2 separate regions of the Homo sapiens genome follow, and region 2 is linked to region 1. Evidence: promoter capture Hi-C in 16 types of primary human blood cells and fetal thymus (Javierre and others, 2016). All regions are on one chromosome and are shown on one strand. Each heading gives the region's core, a stretch centred on a gene start or on the middle of the fragment in contact. The rest is flanking DNA. Distances are from core to core; before and after follow the strand shown. Region 1 holds the start of CAPN8 (calpain 8). Region 2 has its middle 37 kb from the start of TLR5.

The links. Contacts are between HindIII fragments. The CHiCAGO score rates a contact against its expected background, and 5 or more counts as called.
Region 2: a contact is called between a fragment that was not itself captured here and the fragment with the promoter of CAPN8 in region 1, in 1 of 17 cell types (M1 macrophages). The highest score is 5.5, in M1 macrophages.

The regions. Positions count from the first base shown.
Region 1 is chr1:223,663,130-223,667,527 of GRCh38, forward strand. It overlaps CAPN8 (calpain 8), which reads right to left and starts at 2,572. Exons shown (of 21, transcript NM_001143962.2): 1 at 2,281-2,572. The coding sequence starts at 2,517. The HindIII fragment of the contact is 20,763 bases long and covers 1-4,398 here.
Region 2 is chr1:223,177,873-223,182,270 of GRCh38, forward strand. No RefSeq gene overlaps it. Among named protein-coding and RNA genes, the nearest start is that of TLR5, 37 kb to the left of the region's middle. The HindIII fragment of the contact is 932 bases long and covers 2,169-3,100 here.

The DNA of each region.
Region 1 (4,398 bases), core at 1,322-3,821:
TACTTCCTCCTTTGACAGCCACAAATCAGCACATCCAGTCTACAATTACCGCATTTCCACAGACCACGAGGACAGGTGAAGACATAGTTTGGGGAAGAACAGGCTATGTGGTTAAGGAGGTAAAGTCTCTAAGGATTTCAAAGAAAGGAGAAAAACTAAGCAAAGGTTAACTGATACCTGACTTTGGTCTCTAAAGGAAAATTTTCTCCCCCTCCTTCCTCTCCCCCAAGACCCTTGGGATCTGCAATGGTACCCCTCCCTAAGGCTTTTCACCACCCAGTTGTGACAACCCAGGTTCCCATGGCCCATCATTTATGCCTCTGTAGAGTTCTTACTTCATTCTGCCTTGGGCATCTGTCCTTTATTCACACCTGTGTCTCCCCACACTTTCCATCAGAGCTGAGACCACAGCTCCTTCCTCAGCTTCTCCCTGACCACCTTTCCAATCAGTGCAGAGCCCATGCCTGGCACAAAATGGAAGCTCAAAAAAACTGTCTGTTGAAATGAAATGTGGCTGTCTTGAAATTAGAATAAAAACCATTACTCCCAATCTGGATTTTATCAACATACCAGGGTAACCCTATAGGTTTCAGAGGGGAATGGGAAGATGAACCACGGTGGGCGGGAGGGCAGCATGGCCAAGGAGTTATTCTCAGAGATGAAAACTGTTAGGCAAAATCAGCAGGATCAAAGTAAAAAGGGTAGAGGTAGCTAGCTGGAGTTAAATAGTGATTTTGACCATTTTAGAAGAAGTACTCTCCCTTTGTCTTCCTGTTTCAACCACTGCCAAGAAAATAGGAACCCTGACTTAATTTCCCTATCATGGTTTAGAAGACAAAAGGTGCCCAGGTCATTTCATAGCCCCTCTCCTGAGACGTTGTTATGAGCTCTGTTGAACAGAGCACTTTGTATGGATGAGCTCAATTCTCACAACCACTCTGTATGGGAGAGGTTCTCATCCCTGAGGAATCACTTGACAAGGGTCACATAGTGATAGGTCATGGGTCTAGGTTTTGGGAGGACTGTTCTCCATCCCTTGCCCTTGAGCTTTGGGTAGTATCAGTAACCGCATCCAGGAGCCTCTGCCTTCCGTCTGCATCCACAGAGCCCCAGCTCCCACCTCTCCACTCACCAGCCCTGATGGAATAATGTCAATTCATGACCTTGCGCAACCGTGCACCTTTCAGCAATGATGTTGTCACAATTTACCTGCCAGCTGATTGCATCCAGCACTGAGTTGTTCCATTGTGCACTGGCCCAGGGACCATATGCAGTAATAACAACTACGTATTCTGCATCTATTATGTTCTGGGCACTATGCTCTGAGATTTATCTCTAATTCTCATACCAACCCTGAAAAATAAGGTGCCAGTAAATGCCATTTTACAGATGAGAAAACTAAGGTTCACAGAGTTTACCGGCCCAAAACAACACAGGCAGAGCTAGGATTCAAATCTATCTTACCTAGTTCCAAAGCTCATCCATGCTCTTCTCTCTATACCTCACCATCTCTGAACAAGAGTTCAGGCTGGGTGTAGTGGCTCACATCTGTAATCCTAACACTTTGGGAGGCTGAGGTGGGCAGATGGCTTAAGCCCAGGAGTCCAAGACCACCCTGGGCAACACAGCACAACCCTGTCTCTACAAAAATATGTAAACATTAGCTGGGTGTGGTGGCACGTGCCTATAATCCCAGCTACTTGGGAGGTTAAGGTAGGAAAATCACCTGAGCCCAGGAAGGTTGAGGTTGCAGTGCACTGTGATCGCACCACTGCACTCCAGTCTGGGTGACAGAGTGAGACTCTGCCTCAAAAAAAATAAGAGTTCAAAAGGTGATGGGGGGGCCAGATGCAGTGGCTCATGCCTGCTATCCCAGCACTTTGGAAGGCTGAGGCAGATGGATCACCTGAGGTTGGGAGTTTGAGACCAGCCTGACCAACATGGAGAAACCCCATCTCTACTAAAAATACAAAATTAGCCAGACATGGTGGCACATGCCTGTAATCCCAGCTACTCGGGAGGCTGAGGCAGGAGAATCACTCAAACCCAGGAGGTAGAGGTTGCAGTGAGCTGAGATCATGCCATTGCACTCCAGCCTGGGTGACAGAGCAAGACTCCATCTCAAAAAAATAAAATTAAAAAAGGTGGTGGTGGAGGGATCTGAAATATGAGATCCAGACACTTAGGGTCCACAGCCTCAACTTCTCCCTCAGTTCCTCCTGATCAGATGTAAGGCCCCTCCACCTTGTATGTCACTCAACAGCAAGCCCGCTTCCTTACCGTGGGCCGCTTCCAGATGATGCCTTGAGTTTGCGGAGAGCCTGGTCCAAGATCCTTGTAGCCCAAAGCTGATGGACATGCTGGGAACTCAGGGTCCTTAAATAGGACCCCTGAGTCCAAGCACTGTTGCCTCAGGGTCTTGAAATCCTGGCCCAAGTACTTCAAAGCGTTTTGGTTGGAGCCAAGACCTTGAGTGGCTGCCCGCTGCCTAGATACACCAGCTGCCTGGGCTGCCATGGCCGTGGGCTCTGTAGGGTGGACAGAAGGGCAGGGCTGCACTGTACTCTCAGACACCTGCTCCACTGGGAGGGGAGCTATAAGGCACTAAAGGAGGTGGAGCAGACAAACATTTCACCTGAGGCCCTGTTCCAGAAGGAAGTGAGTCATGGCCAGGGACAAATATGTACCCAAGGTCCAGGCCAATCTGCCCCACCTTCTTCTTCTGCCTTTTGCAAATAATTTGGGGTCTGGGAACTTTCCAGGGCCCATCCCAGGCCATTAGCCTAAGAAATCCATTAGGATCTTGACCCCACCCCGGCATTCCCTCCACACACCTCTTTGCAAGACCTGCTTACCTTGCTTCAAGCCCATTGACTGAGATGAGAAGGCTTATTGAGCAGCTTGAAGCAAATATTCATCAAGGAATTGGAGGCATGGCTCTGAGCAGGAAGAAGGCAAGTAGTTACAGGGGCCTCCTTTCCTGCCAGAAATGTTTTGGTGCATATTTCCTAGGAAGGCAAAAAATACCAGAGAGTAGTGATTCACAGGCCAGATTTGGAATAAGCCTGACTGGAGGAGGTTCCACCTGTGAGTGAACGCTTTGGCCTCTGACTGCCTCGGTTTCTATCCCAGCTCCCCCGGTAATTTGCTCTGTCATGTTGGGCAAGTTGTTTAACCTCTTTTCTCCTAAGTTTTTTTATCTATAAACTGGAAGAGCATAGGAGAGCCTACCACAAAGGGTTGTTCGGAAGAGTGATGAGATAGTACATGTCATCTGCTTAGAACAGTATGAAGTAACATTCAGTGAATGTCAGGTATCACTATTCCTTGAAGCCAGGATTCCCAGAAAGGCCTTGGAATCAGGAGCCTTGATTCCAATCTCAGAAGTGAGTTACAAGCTGTATGACCTTGGATTAGTCACTTCTCTCTGGGCTCCAGTTTCCTACATCTGGTCTACCCGAAGGATGTCAACCACACCAATGCTTTTTGAACTTCAGTGTTTGTGGCACACTAGAAAATGGTCCCCCAAGGATACCAGGTCCTCATCTTGAGAACCTGTAAATAGTCCCTTATCTGGGAAAAGGGTTTTTGCTGCTATGACTAAGTTAAGGATCTCGAGATGGGAAGATTATCCTGACCCTAAATACACAAGTGTCCTAAGAGGAAGGCAGAAGAAGATTTGACAATAGACAAAAAGGAGAGGTGATGAAATGAGGCAGGCAGAGGTTAGCGAGATCCTGCCCCACTCCAGGGAACACCAGCAGCCACAGGAGCTGGAAGGGGCAAGAATGGATTCTCCCCTAGAGCCGCTGGAGGGATGTGGGCCTTCCAACACCTCGATTTCACAGCCTTGGGACTTCTGGCCTCCAGAACGGTGACAGAATACATGTATGTTGTTCTAAGCCACCATATTTGTGGTCATTTGTTACAGAAGACGCAGGAAACAAATATAGTGTGCAGAAGAATCCCCTGGAGCACTCGCTCAAAATGCTGATTCCCTAATAGGTGCTACCACAAATCCTCCACCCCCATCCCTCCCAAAAAAGAGTTCTAATTCAGGAGGTCTGAAGTAAGACCCAGGAATCTGCAGTTTTTAAACCAGTACCACAGAGATGATGCTAATACAAGGATCCAGGGATGCCCTCTGAGAAGCTCTGGACCAGCCGACCTCTGAGGCCTCCAACTCTGACCTTCTAAGCCAATGACAGTCCACGTGTTAAGCACTTAGCTAGGTGGGTAGGTCTGAGCAAGTAGAAAGAAGGGTTGCTCCCAGGTGTTCAGAAAAACATGTGGTTTCCCAGGTTTCATCAGAAACTCAAGGCCAGGCCAGGCATGGTGGCTCAGATCTGTAATCTCAGCACTTTGGGAGGCTGAGGCAGGAGGATTGCATGAGCCCAG
Region 2 (4,398 bases), core at 1,385-3,884, 490 kb before region 1:
GCCCAGCTGGAACTTGAGCTTGGCTTGTCCCTAAACCCGCCAGTGCTGTCAACCACTGTATTCTGGGAATTTGAGGAACAAGGAATGAGGAAGTGGCAGACAGAAAACGGTGCTCGAGTCTGGGGACATTCTGAACACTTTCAGGGAGGCCCAATAAGAAAAGAGAAATGCAGACAAATGAAATAAAGCAGAGGCTGGGAAGCCAACGCCCACAACACGACCAAGACCCCAAGTTCCCAAAGAAAGTGCTTTATTATTTTCAAAATAGCAATGTGTAAAAACGGCTTTTGCAGAAAAGAAGACAAAAAGGCTAACCTTTACTGCACCCCCAATAATGCCAATTCCCCAGCCCTAGCCCAGCAGAACCGTGGGAAAGCAGCCTTTGCTGTATGTATGTAGGCTTTCACTCAGGACAGGTAGATTTTTCATAATGACTTTGCTTTTAATCTAGGGAAGAGTGTAAAATTGCACAGCAAGTCTTGGGGACTCTGACAGCCCAGTGGACCAGGAAGGAATCTCCATCCATCTCTGGGAGTCTCTGGGGTCACAGGGAGCCTGTAAGCCAAGGGGAGGCTGGGGAGGAGGGAGAGCGGCTGGAGAGATTTATACATAGTGCTGTCCTCCCCCTGCCTTGGAATTACAGCACCATGAGAAGCTGTGAGATTAAATGAAGAGCAGGGCCCTGGAGAAGCTAAAGCATCAGTGGGAACAGGGGGTGCAGCAGGTGATAAGCGGGAGATGCAGGTTAATTATGATGCTGGCACACAGGTAGCCCCGGGAGGAAAGCAGAAGCCCTGGGGCGGGTGCATGTGTGTGTGAGTGTGTGTGTGAGTGTGTGCATGGTGGGGGAGGGGAGGGGGAGAGAGAGAGATCCATGATATCCATTTGTGTTTTGGCCCCATTCTTTTTTTTTAAAAAACCTAATCAAATCGATTCTCCTCTCCTACATAGAGGTTTGCATGCCCCACCCCCCACTCTCCTTGCCAATTCATCAATATCCTCATCCTCAGAATTTATCTAAACTACTTTATAGGAAAGATTCTTTTACCTTTAACCCCCTGCACCCCACTGGCCAGGTATGGAAGGATGATTAGACAGCCTGATCCGAAAGAAGGGGCACCAGCAATGACTAGACTAACTCTTCTGGGGAGAGGAAAGTCTCTGAGCTCTGCAGAGCGGAGGAGCCCCTCTCTGATCTGCCTCAGTAAGTCAAGCAGATACGATGCAAATCCACGCCTTCTGAGTTCTGGCTGTGAGAGAGGAGACAACTCCAGGCATTGTCTGGGGTAAGGAGCCCTCTTTGAGGGAGGGGTGCTTTTCTTTCAATGAGTTTAAGCATTTCCTTCACTAGCTTGACTCTGTAGCTGGTTCTTCGATCCAGTCTCCTCAGAGGTCCCCTTCTCTGCTGAAGCATCTCAGATCTTCCTGCTCCTTCTGCCTTCGGCCCCTCTGTGGCTCAGGCTGACCATAGGAACTAATATGCATGTTTGTCAGGCCCTTTCTATTTTTTAATTTTTTTCTCTTACTTATAAATTACCTCAAATGGGTTTTCTATCAAACATCATTTTTGTTATTTTTGGCTTCTGTGTCTCAATTTCTTTCTTTCTTTCTTTCTTTCCTTTCTTCCTTCCTTCCTTCCTTCCTTCCTTCCTTCCTTCCTTCCTTCCTTCCTTTCTTTCTTTTTTTTAAAGATGTGGTTTCGCCATGTGGCCCAGGCTGTCTCCAACTCCTGGGGTCCAGTGATCTTCCCACCTCAGCCTCCTAAAGTGCTGGGGTTGCAGGCGTGAGCCACTGTGCCCAGCCTTTGTCAGGCCCTCTCAAGTCGATGTAGCATTTATTGAGCCCAGTACTGTGTTAGATACCAGGGAATGTCTAAGTCTGAGATACCATCCCTGTTTTCAAGAAACTTGGAGTCTGGTTGGTGACACAAGAATGACCATGAGGCAAAGAGAGACATATATGTAATAAGGTCCCTGAATGGGAGCAAGTCTGTGTGAGATCACTGTATTCAGAGCACATGTGGCCCAAGGACCTTTATTACCAAATAAATCCACGATCAACCCCAGCCTCCCACTGCACACTTTTCTTACTCCAATCCCTTGGTAGCTAAGCTGTGTGACCACAGTGGAATGAAGTAAAGACCAGCAATCTGGGTGGATTTTCCCAAAAGCTTGCCATGTGACCTTGATAAATGGCATCACATGAGTGAAAGTCACAAAATAAACCAGTGGGTCTTGTCCAGTGTCCACTGCAGCCACATGGGGAGGACACAGCCTGGTCCAGGACCTTTCCATCAATTTAATTCCAATAGAATCCAGCCTCTTTCTTTGTATGATTTTGAAGGTAGAGTTGGTTTTGTCTTCTTGCTTACTGCCTCCTTTCGCTTGTTTAAATATTTACCTTACATTTTCCCTACTCTGACTAGGGGAGACATTTTGCTAACTTAAAATAGTTGAGCGACATTGTCCTCCACAGTCCCTTCTGGAGATGTGAATTTCCTTCAAACCTCTGAGATTGGGGTTTAAGCCATCTCTTCTGGAATTCTCTCATGGGGAGATAATTGAGTTCAACCGTTCCTTCATACCAGGACCAGGTACCAGTTGTTAAAGAATTATGGAAAGCTATTCCAGAGAACATGTTGCCCACTTTTAGATATCTGCCTGAGCTCCACAGATTCAGCCAGAGTCCATTTATACAATGCTAAATGAGAGTTTCCCACATACAGGGAACTCTAACATCTCCAGATAAATAGCTCTGCAAGGAGAAAATGCAAATTATGACTTAAAGTCAGCCTCTACTTTTGTGCAGTGCATACCAATGTGGCTTTACCCTTTAGCTAGAGCAATGGAGCTACTACTTCTTTTATGCAGATAGATGCCCTGCATGAGTTTGTTTCCTGAGACTGTTGGAAAAATAAATAGACTATTAGCTACTTGGTTTCCTCTTTAGAAACCCAGCAGGCACAACAGGGAGAGACATTAGTCTTTAAGCACCAGTTCTACGAAACAACCACACCATAGAGCACTTGGAGCGGAACTGAAAAAGGTTAAAACAAGTCCAGAGAAAGGGTGTGGGCAGTCAGATAGTTTAGCAGACGCTAAGCTTGTGCCAGGGACTTTTATAATCAAGGCTTTTGCAATAGTGATTTTGTAACAAGTAAAGAATCCACACACATGAGGAGGAAGTGTAAGAAATCAATTAAAACTTCAGAGAATGAAACGTGGAAGGCATAAAGCACCACACACTAAGAGACAAGGGGAAGAATTAGTCACAGAAATAATCATGAGGAAAGTGCAATTGTGGGATCATACAAGCTGAGGATGCCTAGAGGGATCCCTGGATGTCTGTGAGCTGTAAGGCTCAAGTGGATTCCTGCAGTGCTCAGCAAGCCTCGCCAGGCCCCATGTGCACAGGTGTGGGGTGAGACCATGTGGGAGGTGAGACTGAATGAGGTGGAATGAAAGGATTGATGGGTTTTAAATAGTTGCCAAATTATTCTGCTACATCCAATAGACTCTTCCTCAGTCTTAGAAGAAAACAAGGGGGAAGGCCAGAAAAGGGAGCACAGCAAATCTAACAGTGTGGGGCAGAGGGAGGGAGAGAAAAATGGCACATAATGGGGAGTGCAAAGGAGAAGGCAAAGGGAGAATGAACATTAGGACCTGATAACTGATACTAACATAAATGCAGTGTGTGTATGGGTGTGTGTGTATATACATGTTTCCAGAATGATGGGATAGATGTACTGTTCCCCTTTCCCCATGCTAAAGACAACTAGAAACTCTGGGTTGGTTTATATAAATAAAAGTTAGAAGATTCTGAAAGGCAGAGAGAAGGAGGTGAACCAGCCGGGAATCGTGGGACCTGAGGAATGACACAGTGATGAGCTTGCTGTTTCTTTTTGTTTTTGTTTTTGCTTTTTGTTTTTTTTTTTTGGCTCATATGTCCTGGGCCTGAAGCTGAAGAAGCCAGAAACAGGTGCAGAGAAGGAGAAAAAAAATCAACAAAAAGCTATTCTCTCTAGCTAAAGGATAAGGAAAGAGGCAGCCTAGCAAGGCAGAAGACTTTTAGACGATAACCATTATGCTCCAAACACTACAGTAAAAACTGTGGCCCCATCCCGATCCATGCTAGCAAAGACCTGGTGGGGATCAGAGACTTCCACCCTCATGAGGATATGATGGGGTACTTCAACAACCCCTGCCAGAGTGGTGTCTGAAAAGACCAAGTAGTGAGCCAGGGCTTTCATCTCCAGTAGCTGGTAACAAAGATTCTCCTACTGTGGTGTAAGTAGAGACCATATGGAAATCTGGAACCCTAACTTTCACTCAGTAGTAACAAGGAGTCCCCCAGCTTGGGTGTCAATAGATGATGATTGGAGAATCTTGACGTCTACCC